3 separate regions of the Homo sapiens genome follow, and all the other regions are linked to region 1. The links are contacts of gene promoters, found by promoter capture Hi-C in blood cells and fetal thymus (Javierre and others, 2016). All regions are on one chromosome and are shown on one strand. The core of a region is centred on a gene start or on the middle of the fragment in contact, and the rest is flanking DNA. Distances in the headings are between cores, read along the strand shown. Region 1 holds the start of TMX1 (thioredoxin related transmembrane protein 1). Region 2 has its middle 16 kb from the start of GNG2. Region 3 overlaps LOC101927598 (a long non-coding RNA gene).

Region 1 (2,898 bases), core at 237-2,736:
CACAAGAAAACACTCACCTGAACCCTGTTGTCTTTTCATTTTTATTTATTTACTTATTTATTTTGCTAGTTGCCCAGGATCTCTTGAACCCCTGGGCTCAAGTCATCCTCATACCTCAATCTCCTGGGTAGCGTACGCCACTTCCAGCTGAACCTTTTTAAAGAAGAAGGTGTTCTAACAACAATTATTGTATGCCTACTCTGAAGACCCAAAGAAAGCCAGCACAGCAATATCTGCATAGGTTAACTAAAGTATTTAGGTATCTTGTTACTCATTTGTAAAACGTGAAAAACACCTGTCATAGAGAATTTGTAGGGAATTAAATATGGTATTCGTGTAAAGGTGCTTAGTGGTGTCCAGTACACTGTTAATAATTATGCTTTTACTATTATCAGTAAATACTGCTAATATGTATAATACCACCATCAACAACGACTTAGCATCTAAAGCAAAGACAGATACTTTATTTCCCACCGCGGCAGAACAGATATTATTAAATTGAAATCACCACACAAAATACATGATTTCGTTCGAGCAATAAATGATGACCTGGCGCTCTTGAGAGTGTATACATTAATACATTATCTTTTAATGTAATACCATTTACAAAGACCTAGGAGTCACAACCCAAGGTATTCTCTACACTACAAAGACACCCAAAGGAAAAATGAGATGAGGAGTGAAAAAAAGAGAAAGCAAAAGAGGAGGCAAAAAGAGAAAACGAAAACTTAAAAATAACCCAACTTGAATTGACTCAGTATTTACAATAAAAAAGAAACGTACCCAATCCATTAAAAAAAGCTTAAAAGCGCCAAATTCCAACACCATAAAGAGACTATCTTTTAAGGACAGACAAAACGAGAGGAGAAATTTTGCTCAATATTCTCTTATGTAAAATGTGGTGAAAATAAGTGTAGAAGTCTGTGAAGAATCACTTTAACTACTTAGACACGAGTCGGACACCTCCCTCCCCGCGCCCCAGTCGCATCCTCAAAGTCATGAAAAATGTCAGAATTCGCATTGGCACTAACCCTTTGGGCGCACCACAACCCAAGAAACGAAACGAGGGTGCACCCCAGAAGAAACTTAACATTCACGGGTAAGAGACGAGGGGGTGGGACCAAGCTGGCGGCAGATCCCAAGAGTTTGGGGAGCTGCAGAAGTCGGGGACGCTCGCTCCGCAACTCGGAGGCGCAGTCCTGGGGAGCCTGCGACCCGCACGAGGAACGTGCGGGGTGAAGTCGTGTGTCCAGGCACGGACGTAGGACCCTGGCCGCCCCGCACTCACAATTCTATCATCCAGTCTCCTTCCAGCAGTTCTCTCCAGTTCTCGTCCGTGATGACGCGAACGTTGCTCCGCCGCCCGTGCGTCCAGGGAGCACCCCAAAGCAACAGCACCAGGACTGCCAGGGGAACTGCAAGACTCCCGGAGGGCGCCATTTCGCCGCTTGCCCACCTCACAGGGAGCGCGGTCGCAGCTCCCACTTCCGCCCTCGCGGGCTGCTCAGCGCAAGCGCACTACGGTGCTGCGAGGAGCGCCTGTCTAGAGGACTCTCAATGCGCATGACAGGGGTCTGATCCCAGTGAGTGGTGAAGTCGGGAAAGAGGGAAGAACGACTCTCCGCAATGCGCATGACAGAAAAGCGGCTGCTTCTACCGCCTAGGGTGTCCCAATATTGTGGGGGAAGGAACAGAGCAAAAGGAGGCGTGGTGTAAAAAGTGGGGCGGTGCTTTGAGGAAGAACGGTTTAAAAGACCCTCCCAGGATTTTGGCGCCAAATGGTTAGCGTTTACAAGCAAATTGGTAAGTTTATAATGTGCTAAAGCAGTTTTCCAATTAAATGTCCTTCAGAGTTCTCATTTGTTTTCTTTGAAACATGTAGTAAAGCTAATGGATTTTATAGGAGTCGGAATATTGGTTTACTTCTGAGAGATTATAGACAGGGAAGGTGCAGAGGAACATTATGGTTATGTTGGATGTGTTGGAGGTGTTCAACATCTAGATATGAACAGTAGTTACATGGGCGTACGTATATGATTTTTTTTAAAGAAGGATCAAGCTGTACATTTTAAGACAGTGCACTTTATGCACTTTCAGGTGTATGTTATCTCTCAAAAAAAATTCAGTAGGTACAGAGATCCTAGGTCAGTACTTCAAAATGGAACCAGACACATAGGCTTGTAAGATATTTGAGTTTTTTCTCTCAAACATTCGTAAATACAAATGCAAACCAAAATGTGCACTGCCCCATCAGTCAAATGAAAATAGTTGCAGGTGCGGTGGCTCACGCCTGTAATCCTAGCAAAACAGGGAGGCCAAGGCAGGCGGATCACTTGAGGTCAGGAGTTTGTGACCAGCCTGACCAACATAGTGAAACCCCGTCTCTACTAAAAATACAAAAATTAGCCAGGCGTGGTGGCAGGCGCCTGTAGTCCCAGCTACTCAGGAGGCTGAGGCAGGAGAATCGCTTGAACCCGGGAGGCGGAGGTTGCAGTGAACCGAGATCATTCCACTGCACTCCAATCTGGGCTATAGAGAGAGACTAAGTCTCAAGGAAATAGTTGCCACTATCTTACCTCACCTTTTCAACTTAATTAACCCCAATTAGTCCCCTTCCCCACCCCTCCACTGAATAGCCCTCTCAAGGACACCAGCGACCAGCAAGATAAATCCCAATTGTTTCTTCTCAATGCATCTAGCATGACTCCTAGCCCCATTCTACCACACCCTTGAAACACTTTACTATCTTGCTGTCTGGGCAGCTCGCTTTTTTTTCTGTCCTACAGTAGCTGATTCTTCTCAAACTTCTTGGCTGGTCCTCCTTTACTTCCGGACATCGGCATCTCCAGGATGCTTTACTGCCCCCCGCCCCCCATCTCCCGCCACCTTTCTCTTCAT
Region 2 (2,898 bases), core at 166-2,665, 600 kb before region 1:
GGGACTACAGAGCACAAAGAGGATGGATCCAGCCCTGTAACTACCATTTCTTAATATTATTTCCAGCATATACCACTGACTCATCACTCAGGCCAGCACGTCCCAAACTGGATCAATAGGTGGCACGCAGGGTAAAAAGTGCAGATGGGGAATTCAGAGCTCAAATCATTTTGCAAAATCTTAGGTTCAAGAACATTGACCAGGTTTATTTACCATGGGACTTCTCGGGGCTTTTGATATTCTGACATCTGGGATGACTCTCTGAGAGGGAGTTCTACAGAATAAGAATGGCATTTCCCAAACGTATTTGGCCACTGAGTACTGCCTTCACAGAATCTCTCGTAGTTCTTCAGAGCATACTTTGAGAAATGCTGGGCAAGATTGCCTCTAAGATCTAATTATAGTTTAAAGATCCATGGATATTTATTTATTTATTGAGACAGGTCTCACTGTCACCCAGGTTGGAGTGCAGTGGTATGATCTCAGCTCACTGCAGCCTTGACCTCCTGGGTTCAGTCAATCCTCCCACCTCAGCCTCCTGAGTAACTGGGACCACACAGATGCGCACCACCATGCCTGACTAATTTTGGTATTTTTTTGTAGATATAGGGCTTCGCCGTGTTGCTCGGGTTGGTCTCAAACTCCTGGGCTCAAGCAATCCACCTGCCTTGGTCTCCCAAAGTGCTGGCATGAGCCACTGCACCAGCCTTTATTTATGATTGAAAATTACCTATTTTTAAAAAGTGATTTGGCCCATATGATACACTAATTTAGCCCATAGAGAAACAGATTTTTAAGAGAGCCAAGAGAAAAAAAACAATTCACAATAAATTCAGTGTTTTTTATCTATTTTAAATCAAAGCAAGAGCACCAAGTTGTTTCAATAAAAATTGTGGCAGGAGGGCTGGGCATGGTGGCTAACGCCTGTAATCCCAGCACTTTGGGAGGCCGAGGTGGAAGGATCACGAGGTCAAGAGTTTGAGACCAGCCTGCCCAACATGGTGAAACCCCATCCCTACTAAAAATACAAAAAATTAGCTGGGCCTGGTGGCGTGCGCCTGTAATCCCAGCTACTCAGGAGGCTGAGGCAAGAGAATCACTTGAACCTGGGAGGCAGAGGTTGCAGTGAGCCAAGATCATGCCATTGCACTACAGCCTGGGTGACAGTGTGAGACTCTGCCTCAAAAAAAGAAATTGTGGCAGGAGGTAAAGAGGAACAGATACCAAGGCCATGGTGTGGTGCCTCCAGCTGGGAGTCAGCTGGAAACTATGGTAGGTTCTCCCGGGAAGGAACCACCAATGCTCAGGGGACCTTCTTGGAACTGAGTCCTCTTCCGTGGAGGTTTTGGGGCTTCCATCTGACCATATTAACTCTTTATATAACACTCCTCTCCACCCACACACACACACACAGGGCTGTCAACAACAGCAGAGTCACCAGCAACTTCAGCTCCACTGAAGCCAATGAAGAAAACAATGACTTAGAGAAACTCCTCCTCCTCTTCACTGTGACATCATGAGTCAGAAGGGGACAGTCTCAGACATAAGATCTGCCCCCTACCCAGCCTAGTCCAGCTTACCCTGGGGAGAGAGAGTTTGAACCATATATGAGATGGGAAACCAGACCAGATTGTTTTAATAAACACAAGTGACGACTTATGAGTTATGACAGAGAATCAAATATTGTTAAGGGGACTGGGTCCCTAGAGGGAAAGGAGAGCCAGTGACAGGAACACACAGCTGGTAGCAGCCATTTGCAAGATAAAACTGCTCCATGTTTCTGCCTCAACAAATTGAATGTCTTCAATCAAACTGGTTGAATATCTGGGACAGCCACGAGAACAAAGTAGGAAGGAGCAGAGCGAACTGAGAAGAGAACACACAGCCAGGAGATGCACAGAAAGGAGATACATTTCCTTTGCCTGAGTCACCAGAAGAGTCTTTAGAGCCACGGTGGAAACCAAGGTGGTGACCAAGGGGTGGGGAGGAGAAAGGGGGCCTTGCAGGCTGAGGCCACTGGCTGCTTGGAAGCATGAGTTGGGGCAGAGCATGGCTTATTCTGTGAGCCATGAATAGCTTGGCATAGTGGGACCAAAAGGCCAGGCTGTGTGGGTGGGGTGGACTGAAGAGGTGGGCTGGGGTTAATTGAGGAAATACCTTCCATGGCAATTCAATCAAAATGGAAACATGAGGAACCATTAAAACTGTTAGTCAAGAGGACTGATGTGACTGGGTTTGCATGTTGGAAAGACTGCCCCATAACAGTGTGGGATAGGCATTGAAAGAAAGTAGGGTTGAGGGCAGGAGCAGAGTGGACACACTCAAAATATTTGAGTTTTTTTTTTTTTTAACTTTAAGTTCTGGGATGCGTGTGCAGATCGTGCAGGTTACATAGGTATACATATGCCATGTGGTTTGCTGCACCCACCAACCTGTCATCCAGGTTTTAAGCCCTACATGCATCAAGTGTTTGTCCTAATGCTCTCCCTCCCCTCACCCCCGACAGGCCCCAGTGTGTGATGCTCCCATCCCTGTGTCCATGTGTTCTCATTGTTCTATATGAGGGGTTTCTATAGCAGTTGGCAGTCAGGTGTCTGGGTATGTCTGTGAGGAGGTAAGAGAGAGAGAAGAGCAAGAAAGAGGAGGTCAGCATTAATTCCAAGAGTAAGACAACCAAGTAGATGTTTGTGCCTTCATCCAGCCCTTCAACAAGTGTATATTTGCATTAATATAGAAGCATCATTTCTTCCCTCTCCCCTGAAGACCTTTCCTATGATTTACGGAAAGGAGAGCATTGATTAAAAACACCTGAAATAGTTCAGCTAATTATAACTTAATTGGGTTGTTAGTCTCTTCTGCGGTCTTTAGCTGCAACATCTCAGCCTGCTACCTTAGTGG
Region 3 (2,898 bases), core at 132-2,631, 540 kb before region 1:
CAATCATGATCAGCTTACATTGTGCGGTCCAGCCCCAGCCAATAGGGGGAAGGACACAGAAACAGGAACTGCTTTAGGGATACAAATCCCTTCTCTCCTTTGTTCGGTGTGCTCTTGCAATTGTGATGGATGTAAGCAGCACCCTTCTGCAGAAGTAAAGTTGCCTTGCTGAGAAACTCTGAGTGCTGGTTCTTCTTTGTGGTGCCGAGCACTTGTTTCCAACAAAGGCAAGGGGAAAGAGAAGAGGATGAAGTTATTAGAACCTAGAGGCTTGGAGTAGAAACCCTTCATAATTGGGACCTGGATTTCTGGGGAGTAGGTGCCAGTGGACTGGTGCTGGTATTTCTGAGGAGTTCATTCCAGGAGGGTAGAAAATGATTGCTGATTGGATAAAGAAAATGTAGTACATATACACAATGGAATACTATGCCGCCTTAAAAAATAATGAGATCACATCTTTTGCAGGAACATGGATGGATTAATTTCCTTAGGAAACTAATGCAGTAATACAAAACCAAATACCACATGTTCTCCCTTATAAGTGGGAGCTAAATGATGAGTACTCATGGACACAAAGAAGAGAACAACAGATACTGGGGCTTCCTTGAGGGTAGAAGGTGGGAGGATGGAGAAGAGCAGATAAAGGAACTATTGCATACTAGGTTTAGTACCTGGATAATGAAATAATCTGTACAACAAGCCCTCTAACATGAGTTTACCTATATAACAAACCTGCACATGTACCCTCAAACATAAAAGTTTAAAAAGAAAGAAAACGGCTGTTGCTGAGGTGAAAAACCATTATTGAGATGATGCAGGCAGAAACAGGAGGCAAATAGGAGGGAGCAAGTCTCCTCTCCCTCATCCAGCCTCACTGTCCTTCTGGCATGCCAACAAAACACCAGCCAGCTGACCATACAGAAATGTGGTTTGCAGAATCCCCACCTCGGCATCACAAAGCAGAGTACAAAAGGGCAGGTTTGAAACGGAAAGAAAATGGCTTAATAACCAGTACAATGACCTTAGGTAAATTACATAGCCTCACTAAGCTTCAATTCCTATACCTGTATAAGGGGGAGAAATACCTTGTCTCAAGGTTATTGTAAGGATTAAGTGAGATAATGGATACAGATTGCTCAATAAGAACATTGAAAGTAGCTGTAGATCTATGTCCCTGATACACCATCTTTAGCCTCAACATGGCAGCCAGAGGGGGACAAGGATAGGGAGAAAGATGGAAAGAGGAGAGAAGAGCAAGTAGGAGAAGGAGGAGGGAAGAATGGAAAGAGTGCAAGAGGTATTTGGGAACACCATCAGAGAGAAGGGCAAAAGCCCTGTGGACCAGTCCTGTCTCTTTGGGAAGGCTTTTCCCATTTTGAACAAATTATATGCTCTGGGTGCTTTTAATGACTTCTGGGGTTGTTGTGATTTCTGCAAAATCAAGAGAACTAATAAGAGTAGCTGGAGGTATGTGATCATTTTCTAAAAAATTGAAGGCTCAGTAGTTTGGCAAAAGATGACAGCAGGAGGTCTTAATGAGTTAGACCAGAAATTAATCTTGTCTTGTTTCTCCTTTAACTGTTTTTTCCCCCTGTGTCTTTGGCTGATTCTAGCAGCTGTTCAATTGTGTAATTAAGTCACTTCTAAGAGATCCGAGAAGCTGGGTCAGTACTATATGTTCTAGTGATCACTGGCTATCAAGATAAAGCTTGAATTGATATTTTGAGCAGTTATAAAACTCATGCTGCCCCATTTTCATGGAAACTGGCAACTGAAAATGCTAATGGTATTCAGAACCCTACTGCCATCAACAACTCCAAGGAGGGATAAAATCCAGAGCTAGCCTGATGCCTCCAACAATATTTCTCAAACAGTAATTAGTCATTAGGAAAAAAACATAAAGCAAGAAATGCACATTAAAATGATGTATAACATAACCACATTTAAGAATGTATTCCAATACCAAATGTCAAATTTCAACAATGCAAAAACCACAATTACATTTGCATCAGCCTAATAGCTAGGAATGAGAAAAACAGACAGGATAAAATATAGTCTAAGAAATGGAAAATGTTACTGTTCACTCTATTCCACCTGCACAGGAAGAATCTTCACATCCCACTTGGAGGTGTGCCCCTTTGCCTTTATCCTTATTTCCTTCCTGGAGATTGTACATAAATTCCTTATAAATGAAAAAGAGTCACTTTCTGAAAGTGTAAATTGAAATGTGCTGGCTGTATAAACTTATCAAATTAGTTTTGCTGTTGGAGGAAATCTTAATTAAAAGGCTGCTTTGAAATAAGGAAGTGTAATAAAACATTTTTCATTTTGTTTGCTTTCACGCCAGCCACATTCACTTTTATGATTTAATTTTTATTTTTCTTATTTAATGGATGACATTAGATTTGTCTTCCCAGCAGGTTCATTTTCAAAAAGTTAATGAAGTCAAGCTAAGCATATATGGTAGATCATTAGGGTTTCTGCTTACAACCACCAATATCCCATAGTCTTTGATTCCACTTTCTGTTTGGGGACACGATGGGATTTATCAGAAAAATGAATTCCTCTGTCTAAATACAGAGGACATAGCCACGTCCTCTGATTCATGTATTACGAAATCACTTGGGAACTATCAGAATTACAGAGGAAACAGCACCCCGTCCATCTTCTCCAAATGAGTAAATTTGCCATGAGATCACATTTTTTGTGGCTTTACACAATAAAGAATTGAACAAAAGTAAGATTTGATCTATGAGAATCAAAACTTGAGAATTTTTAAATTGGTGTGTAGTAACCCAGTGTTATTAGGGGTTAGGGATCAGTGTTTTAAGCATTTGTTGAAGGCTGGTGTCACTTAACTTTTTATAAAATCTTTTTCTTTGTTTAAAGGTGAGACTC

The links. Contacts are between HindIII fragments. The CHiCAGO score rates a contact against its expected background, and 5 or more counts as called.
Region 2: a contact is called between a fragment that was not itself captured here and the fragment with the promoter of TMX1 in region 1, in 1 of 17 cell types (naive B cells). The highest score is 6.1, in naive B cells.
Region 3: a contact is called between a fragment that was not itself captured here and the fragment with the promoter of TMX1 in region 1, in 1 of 17 cell types (M2 macrophages). The highest score is 5.2, in M2 macrophages.

What each region holds. Positions count from the first base shown.
Region 1 is chr14:51,238,835-51,241,732 of GRCh38, reverse strand. TMX1 (thioredoxin related transmembrane protein 1) reads right to left here and starts at 1,486. Exons shown (of 8, transcript NM_030755.5): 1 at 1,289-1,486. The coding sequence starts at 1,440. RefSeq lists an enhancer at 1,208-1,447 and a silencer at 1,308-1,650. The HindIII fragment of the contact is 7,115 bases long and covers 804-2,898 here.
Region 2 is chr14:51,843,029-51,845,926 of GRCh38, reverse strand. It overlaps a transcript of GNG2 not described here. Among named protein-coding and RNA genes, the nearest start is that of GNG2, 16 kb to the left of the region's middle. RefSeq lists enhancers at 1,351-1,450, 1,471-1,560, 1,601-1,740. The HindIII fragment of the contact is 4,692 bases long and covers 1-2,898 here.
Region 3 is chr14:51,783,690-51,786,587 of GRCh38, reverse strand. All of the region lies in intron 1 of LOC101927598 (a long non-coding RNA gene), which reads right to left. Among named protein-coding and RNA genes, the nearest start is that of GNG2, 75 kb to the left of the region's middle. The HindIII fragment of the contact is 659 bases long and covers 1,052-1,710 here.